Linked DNA regions of Homo sapiens: region 1 is linked to region 2. Evidence: promoter capture Hi-C in 16 types of primary human blood cells and fetal thymus (Javierre and others, 2016). All regions are on one chromosome and are shown on one strand. The core of a region is centred on a gene start or on the middle of the fragment in contact, and the rest is flanking DNA. Distances in the headings are between cores, read along the strand shown. Region 1 holds the start of FASN (fatty acid synthase). Region 2 holds the start of CYBC1 (cytochrome b-245 chaperone 1).

Region 1 (2,700 bases), core at 31-2,530, 350 kb after region 2:
AGTCTCCGGTTCCCCTTCAGCGGCCCGGGCTTGCTGAGCCCTCAAAGTAGGACACGCAGCCAGAGACACCTGTGGCCTCACAAGGCCCGCTTGCCCCCCATGGGGTGCCTGGCCCCGCAAGCGCGAAGCGGTCAGAAAAGGGAGGCCGCGCTTCAGGGCTCAGGCCGCCCAAGGGGCCACGATTCGAGGAATCACTCGGGAGGGAGGGAGCGCGCGAGGGCCGGGCTGAGCCCCCGCCCGTGGGTGCGCGCCTGGAAAACTCGCAGCCTCCGCCCTGGGAAGTGGGGCAGCGGCTCCCTTTGTCCGCACCACACCAGGTGGGTGTCCCGGCCGACTCCGCTCGCCACGTGGCCGCGCCCCTCCCCTCCGCCGAGCTCCAGCGGCCTGGAGTGCGCTCGCCCGTTCGGCCCTGCGCCTCGTCCGGGTCCCCGGGAAGCTGCTAAGGAGGGGCCGTCGGGTGGGTGGACGTCCGTCTCGGGTCTGGGTTCCCCGCCGCACCCGCGAGGAAAACCGGGGATGCGCTGCGATGACCGGCAGTAACCCCGGCCGGGGCGCCCGCGGCCGGGGTCAACGCCCGCACTTGCGCCGCGGCCCGCGAGGCATCCGGGACCGCCCCGCCGCCCGCCCATCACCCTATCGCCTAGCAACGCCCACCCGCGCGCCGCCATTGGGCCGGTGCGAACACCCCTGGCGCCCGATTGGTTGCTGCTGCCGCCGCGCCGCGCAACGCCGCGCCCTCAGCCAGCTCCGCGCGGGCAGCGACGGCGGCGTGGAGTCGGCGGCCGAAGTGCGGGCACGCGGGTCCGTCCGTCCTTCCGCGCGCCTGTGGGTCCGAGCGCCCCGCCGCAGCCGGCTGGACCCCCGGTGTGGCCACGGGGTAGTCCCCAGTGTGGCCCAAGCATTCCCATCCCGCACACGTGGCCCCGGCGGACACGGGGGTCGGGGATGGCTCGGGAGGCGCGCCGCGGGCTCGGTCGCAGCCGCGTGCGCGTCGGGGCCCGCGGGGCGGGAGGCGGAAGTCGGGGGGCGGTGGTTTCCCGCCCGCCCCGCCCCCGGCGCTCCTCAGTCCCAGCCCCACCCCCCCAGGCGCGTTCCCGCGCAGGGTCCCGGCTCGGGCGGCGGCGCGCACGAGCATCACCCCACCGGCGGCGGCGCGCCGGGTCCCGGGGCGCAGCCCCGACGCTCATTGGCCTGGGCGGCGCAGCCAAGCTGTCAGCCCATGTGGCGTGGCCGCCCGGGGATGGCCGCGGTTTAAATAGCGTCGGCGCCGGCCTAGAGGGAGCCAGAGAGACGGCAGCGGCCCCGGCCTCCCTCTCCGCCGCGCTTCAGCCTCCCGCTCCGCCGCGCTCCAGCCTCGCTCTCCGCCGCCCGCACCGCCGCCCGCGCCCTCACCAGGTACGAGCAGCCGGCGCTGGGGCCGGGGCGCGGGTCGTGGTCGGGGCTGGGCCCGGGGTTCCCGGGGTGGCCCGGCTCCTCATCCTCCGCTCTCGGGGCGCGCGTGGCCCGGCCCCGTATCCAGGGGTCGCCTGGGCGGCCTGTCCGGGTCTCGGTGTTCGTGCCCCTTCGGAGGCGCCCGGGGCCCCGCGGAGTAGGTGGGCGGATGGCGGGGGAAGGACGCCGGGGAAAGCCACCAACAGCCGCCTTCGCTTCCCGTGGGGGAGGCCGCGGACCCTGAAGGGCCTGGAGGAGCCCCCGGCTCGGCCTCCCCGCGCCCACAAAGGCGCCGCCGCATCCTCCTCCCGGAGCCGCCCCGGAGCCGAGGCCCAGCCCGAAGGGGACGCCGCGAGGGAGGAACGGGGGGGCGCAGGGGCCGCGCCGGGACCGGCCTCCCCATCACGTGGCGCAGCCCGGCCGAAGCGCAGGGGTCCCGAGCAGCCCCCGCCCGGGGCGAAGGGAGGCCGGGCGCGCCGCGGTGTTCCCACCCCCTGCCTGGCCGTCGACCCCGCGTGAATAGCAAGCGGCGAGGACCCAGCGTGCGGGCCTGGAGCTGGCCCGGGGCAGCCAAGCCTCTGTGAATCGCAGCGGGTGGGAAGGCGGCCGCCTCCCTGCCGGGACGGCCCAAGGGAGGCCGCACTGCCGAGGGGCGGCGCGCGTATCAGGCCCTGGGGCCTCGTGCAAGTGGCCAGACCAGCGCTGGCCTCCGCCCCCTCCCCCCAGGGCCGCACCAGCCCTCATGCTGGAGGAGGAGCCGGCGGCCTGGGCACCCGTTCCGGGTCTTAGGGACCTGGGCTCCAGGGAGGGCCTCCTGTGGTGTGTGGGTTGGTATGGGGAGGCAAGCGTCTGTGGGTTCACCCGCGCAGGTGAAGGGTGCCAGGCAACACCTGCGTGTCCTGGCCAGGAGTGGTTCTCCAGGTTGGACCCTGCTGGAGGGGTTGGACTGGCTGGGTCGGTCCACAGTGGGGCAGGGGCCACCTTTCCCCCAGAGCATAGGCTATCCCCATTTCGTCCCTCCCCAGCCCTGGTGGCTCTTGGGCTGGCCTGGACAGCGGGCCCCCACCCCAACACGGGTGAGCATGGGTGCTGAGTACCCCCCTCTAGGGCTCCCAGCCACCTCCATGCCCCGGCTTTGGGACCCTGCCTCTCCATTTCTTTGATGGCCCTTAGCAGGCTGGCCACCTGAGGCCTTGTCCCCATCTCAGGTGACCCTGCCTGCTCCTCACTGTGAGCCCCCTGGTGCCCTAGGGATGGCCTGGGACAAGC
Region 2 (2,700 bases), core at 80-2,579:
AACTTCAAGATCTGTTTTTGTTTTGTTTTGTTATTTTTTATTGAGATGGAGTCTCACTCTGTTGCCCAGGCTGGAGAGCAGTGGCACGATCTCGGCTCACTGCAAGCTCTGCCTCCCGGGTTCACGCCATTCTCCTGCCTCAGCCTCCCGAGTAGCTGGGACTATGAGCACCCGCCACCACGCCCAGCTAATTTTTTTGTGTTTTTAGTAGAGATGAGGTTTCACTGTGTTAGCCAGGATGGTCTCAATCTCCTGACCTCGTGATCTGCCCACCTTGGCCTCCCAAAGTGCTGGGATTACAGGCGTGAGCCACCGCACCTGGCCACCTCAAGATCTGTTTTAATGTGAATGCTGGTCAGCTGTGTGCCTGAATTCCAAAAGGGAGGAGGGAGTGAGGTATGTCTGTCTCCCCCTTCCCATCACTGCCTGAGCTAGTTTTTCAGGATAACTTGGGAATGCTCTTGGCCAAGCGGAAGGGTCCATTCAGATGGTTGAGGTTTCGAATTGCTGACTGTATCCTTGTAGAATCCTTTAGTACAGTCTTGTCTTCCACATTTCCAGTAATTCACTCTAGAAGCTTGTTCACATTCAGGTTAAATTTTTTCTGGCAAGACTACTTCATAGTGTTGTGTACTTCTGATATCTAACTGACCTTTTTGCGATGTTAATTAGCAGTCATTGATGACATTGCCTAGGTCCGTTAATTCATAGGGTGATGTTTTAATCCTACTGTTTCTTCTTCATTTATTAGCGGGAAAACTTCTATAATGAGAAATTCTTCTCATGCAGTATTTGGTTACTCTGCTGTAAATTTCATAAAGGCAGGACAAATGCTTGATGCTTTCCTTTTATTAACCAGGCCACAAACTGGGGTGAGCTTACCAGCATCCTCCAAAGGTGAACAGAGTTAAAAAATACATTATTATGAATTACAGACTGGAGCATCTGAGGATTTTAAATTCACTCGAATTCCTGTTCTTATTCATGCTCAAATCTTCTTTTTTGGCAATGAGAACCGCTTCAGTTTCGCTTCTATGTTAGCAAGACGTTCATAGTCCTTGGTAAGTTCTTTGCTGTCGGATACGTTTCCCCGCACGTTTCTTTTTTTCAAGAAAACTGGCTTCTTTAGCAGGAACCACCCGCCTCCTCCTGCGGCTCCGCCCGGATCCCGGAAATCCGCTCGGCTCCGCCCCATCCAGGAAATGCTTGCGGCCCCGCCCCAATCCCGTAAGCGCGCGCGGCCCCGCCCCCAATCCCGGAAGCGCGCGCGGCCCCGCCCCCGAAAGTCGGCTCGGCTCCGCTCCAATCCCGGAAGTGCGCGCGGCCCCGCCCCCGCCGGTTCGCGTCTCTCTGCTGCGGCGCGGGGACCGCTGTGCTCTCGGTAGGCGGCTGGGCTGGGTGGGCTCCGCACTTCCTTCCCGCTCCGTGCCGCGCGTCCCGGCACCCTTAGGCCCACTCCGGGAGGGGTCTGCGTCCTGGGCCCGCCTGCCGGCTGTTCCGTGTCCCGCCGTGCCCGTCGCGGGCGGCCTCGCGCCTGTTCCGCTGCAGGTTGGCCCCGGCGGCGGGAGCGCCCCCGATCCGGACAAAGAAACGAGCGCTCGGTGCGACTAGCGGCGCGGGCGGCTTTGCCAGCGCGCGTGTGCTTGTGTCCGCGAGTGTGCGTGTGTGTGTGCATTTGGATGTGGAATGCCGGGTGTTTCGGGAGCAATGAGGCAACTGAGGCCCGGGAGGGAGCCCAGTCATATACCAGCATCTAGGATTGGTTTGTGTGATTTGAACCCACTATTTTTTATTTTTTTGAGACACGGTCTCACTCTGTCACCCAGGCTGGAGTCCAGTGGCACGATTTCTGCTCACTGCAGCCTCCACCTCCCGGCCTCAGGTGATCCTCCCAGCTCAGCCTCCTGAATAACTAGGACCACAGGCGTACACCACCACACCGGGCTGTTTTATGTATTTTCTGTGGAGACGGGGTTTCGCCACGTTGCCCTGGCTGGTCTTGAACTCCGTGACTCAAACAATCCGCACGCCTCGTCCTCCCAAAGTGCTGAGATTACAGGCCTGAGCCACCGCGCCCAGCCTGAACCCCCTACTTAATGTCAGAAATTTGATTTGACTTCACAGGGAAAGCCCTGAGAAACTACCAGAACGGGGTCCCTGGGGCCAGTGTTGGGAGCGTACGGTGAAGTGGCAGGGCTGCTGCGCCCGTGCGGAACTCCGCTGTGGAAGATTAGCCCCTTTGGTGACTCGTCGGTTCTGGCCGCTTTGGGACCCTCTACTGTGCAGTCTGAACTTTCAGCAGGTGGAGGAGGGCAGAGAGAGAGCTGAGATCGTTGGTCCATGCCAGTGCGAGAGCCAGTACGGCCGGAAGCCATGATGGGACTTTCAGTTCCTTTCTTGGTGGAGGCCAGCACAGGGGAGAGGGGGTGCCCACAGATGCTAGAAGCTTAAAGGCTGCTGGGGGCTAGCGGCCTCAGGACATAAGGTTTCCAGACAGGACGGGGCAGGTGGTGATGCAGCTGTAGCTCGTGAGTCTGAGCGGGAAACAGCCCCCGCGCAGTCGGTGTCGCTGTGAACGGAAAAGGGCCTTCCTTACACAGGAAACGGGGTCTCTGGGGGATCCAGTGACGTGCCCAACCACAGAGACCAGGTGAGACTGGCTGATGGTGTCTGGGGCTGCAGGTGACTTAGTTGGGGGAC

What was found. The method cuts DNA at HindIII sites, captures the fragments that hold promoters and counts their contacts. A CHiCAGO score of 5 or more calls a contact.
Region 1: the fragment with the promoter of FASN here is called in contact with the fragment with the promoter of CYBC1 in region 2 in 5 of 17 cell types (non-activated CD4 T cells, activated CD4 T cells, fetal thymus and 2 more); the score reaches 9.0 in non-activated CD4 T cells.

What each region holds. Positions count from the first base shown.
Region 1 is chr17:82,096,816-82,099,515 of GRCh38, reverse strand. FASN (fatty acid synthase) reads left to right here and starts at 1,280. Exons shown (of 43, transcript NM_004104.5): 1 at 1,280-1,395. RefSeq lists silencers at 108-1,587, 1,658-1,847, 1,868-2,077, 2,138-2,187 and an enhancer at 2,056-2,700. The HindIII fragment of the contact is 59,862 bases long and covers 1-2,700 here.
Region 2 is chr17:82,449,381-82,452,080 of GRCh38, reverse strand. It overlaps CYBC1 (cytochrome b-245 chaperone 1), which reads left to right and starts at 1,329. Exons shown (of 7, transcript NM_001033046.4): 1 at 1,329-1,381. RefSeq lists a silencer at 1,269-1,628 and an enhancer at 2,259-2,518. The HindIII fragment of the contact is 1,869 bases long and covers 580-2,448 here.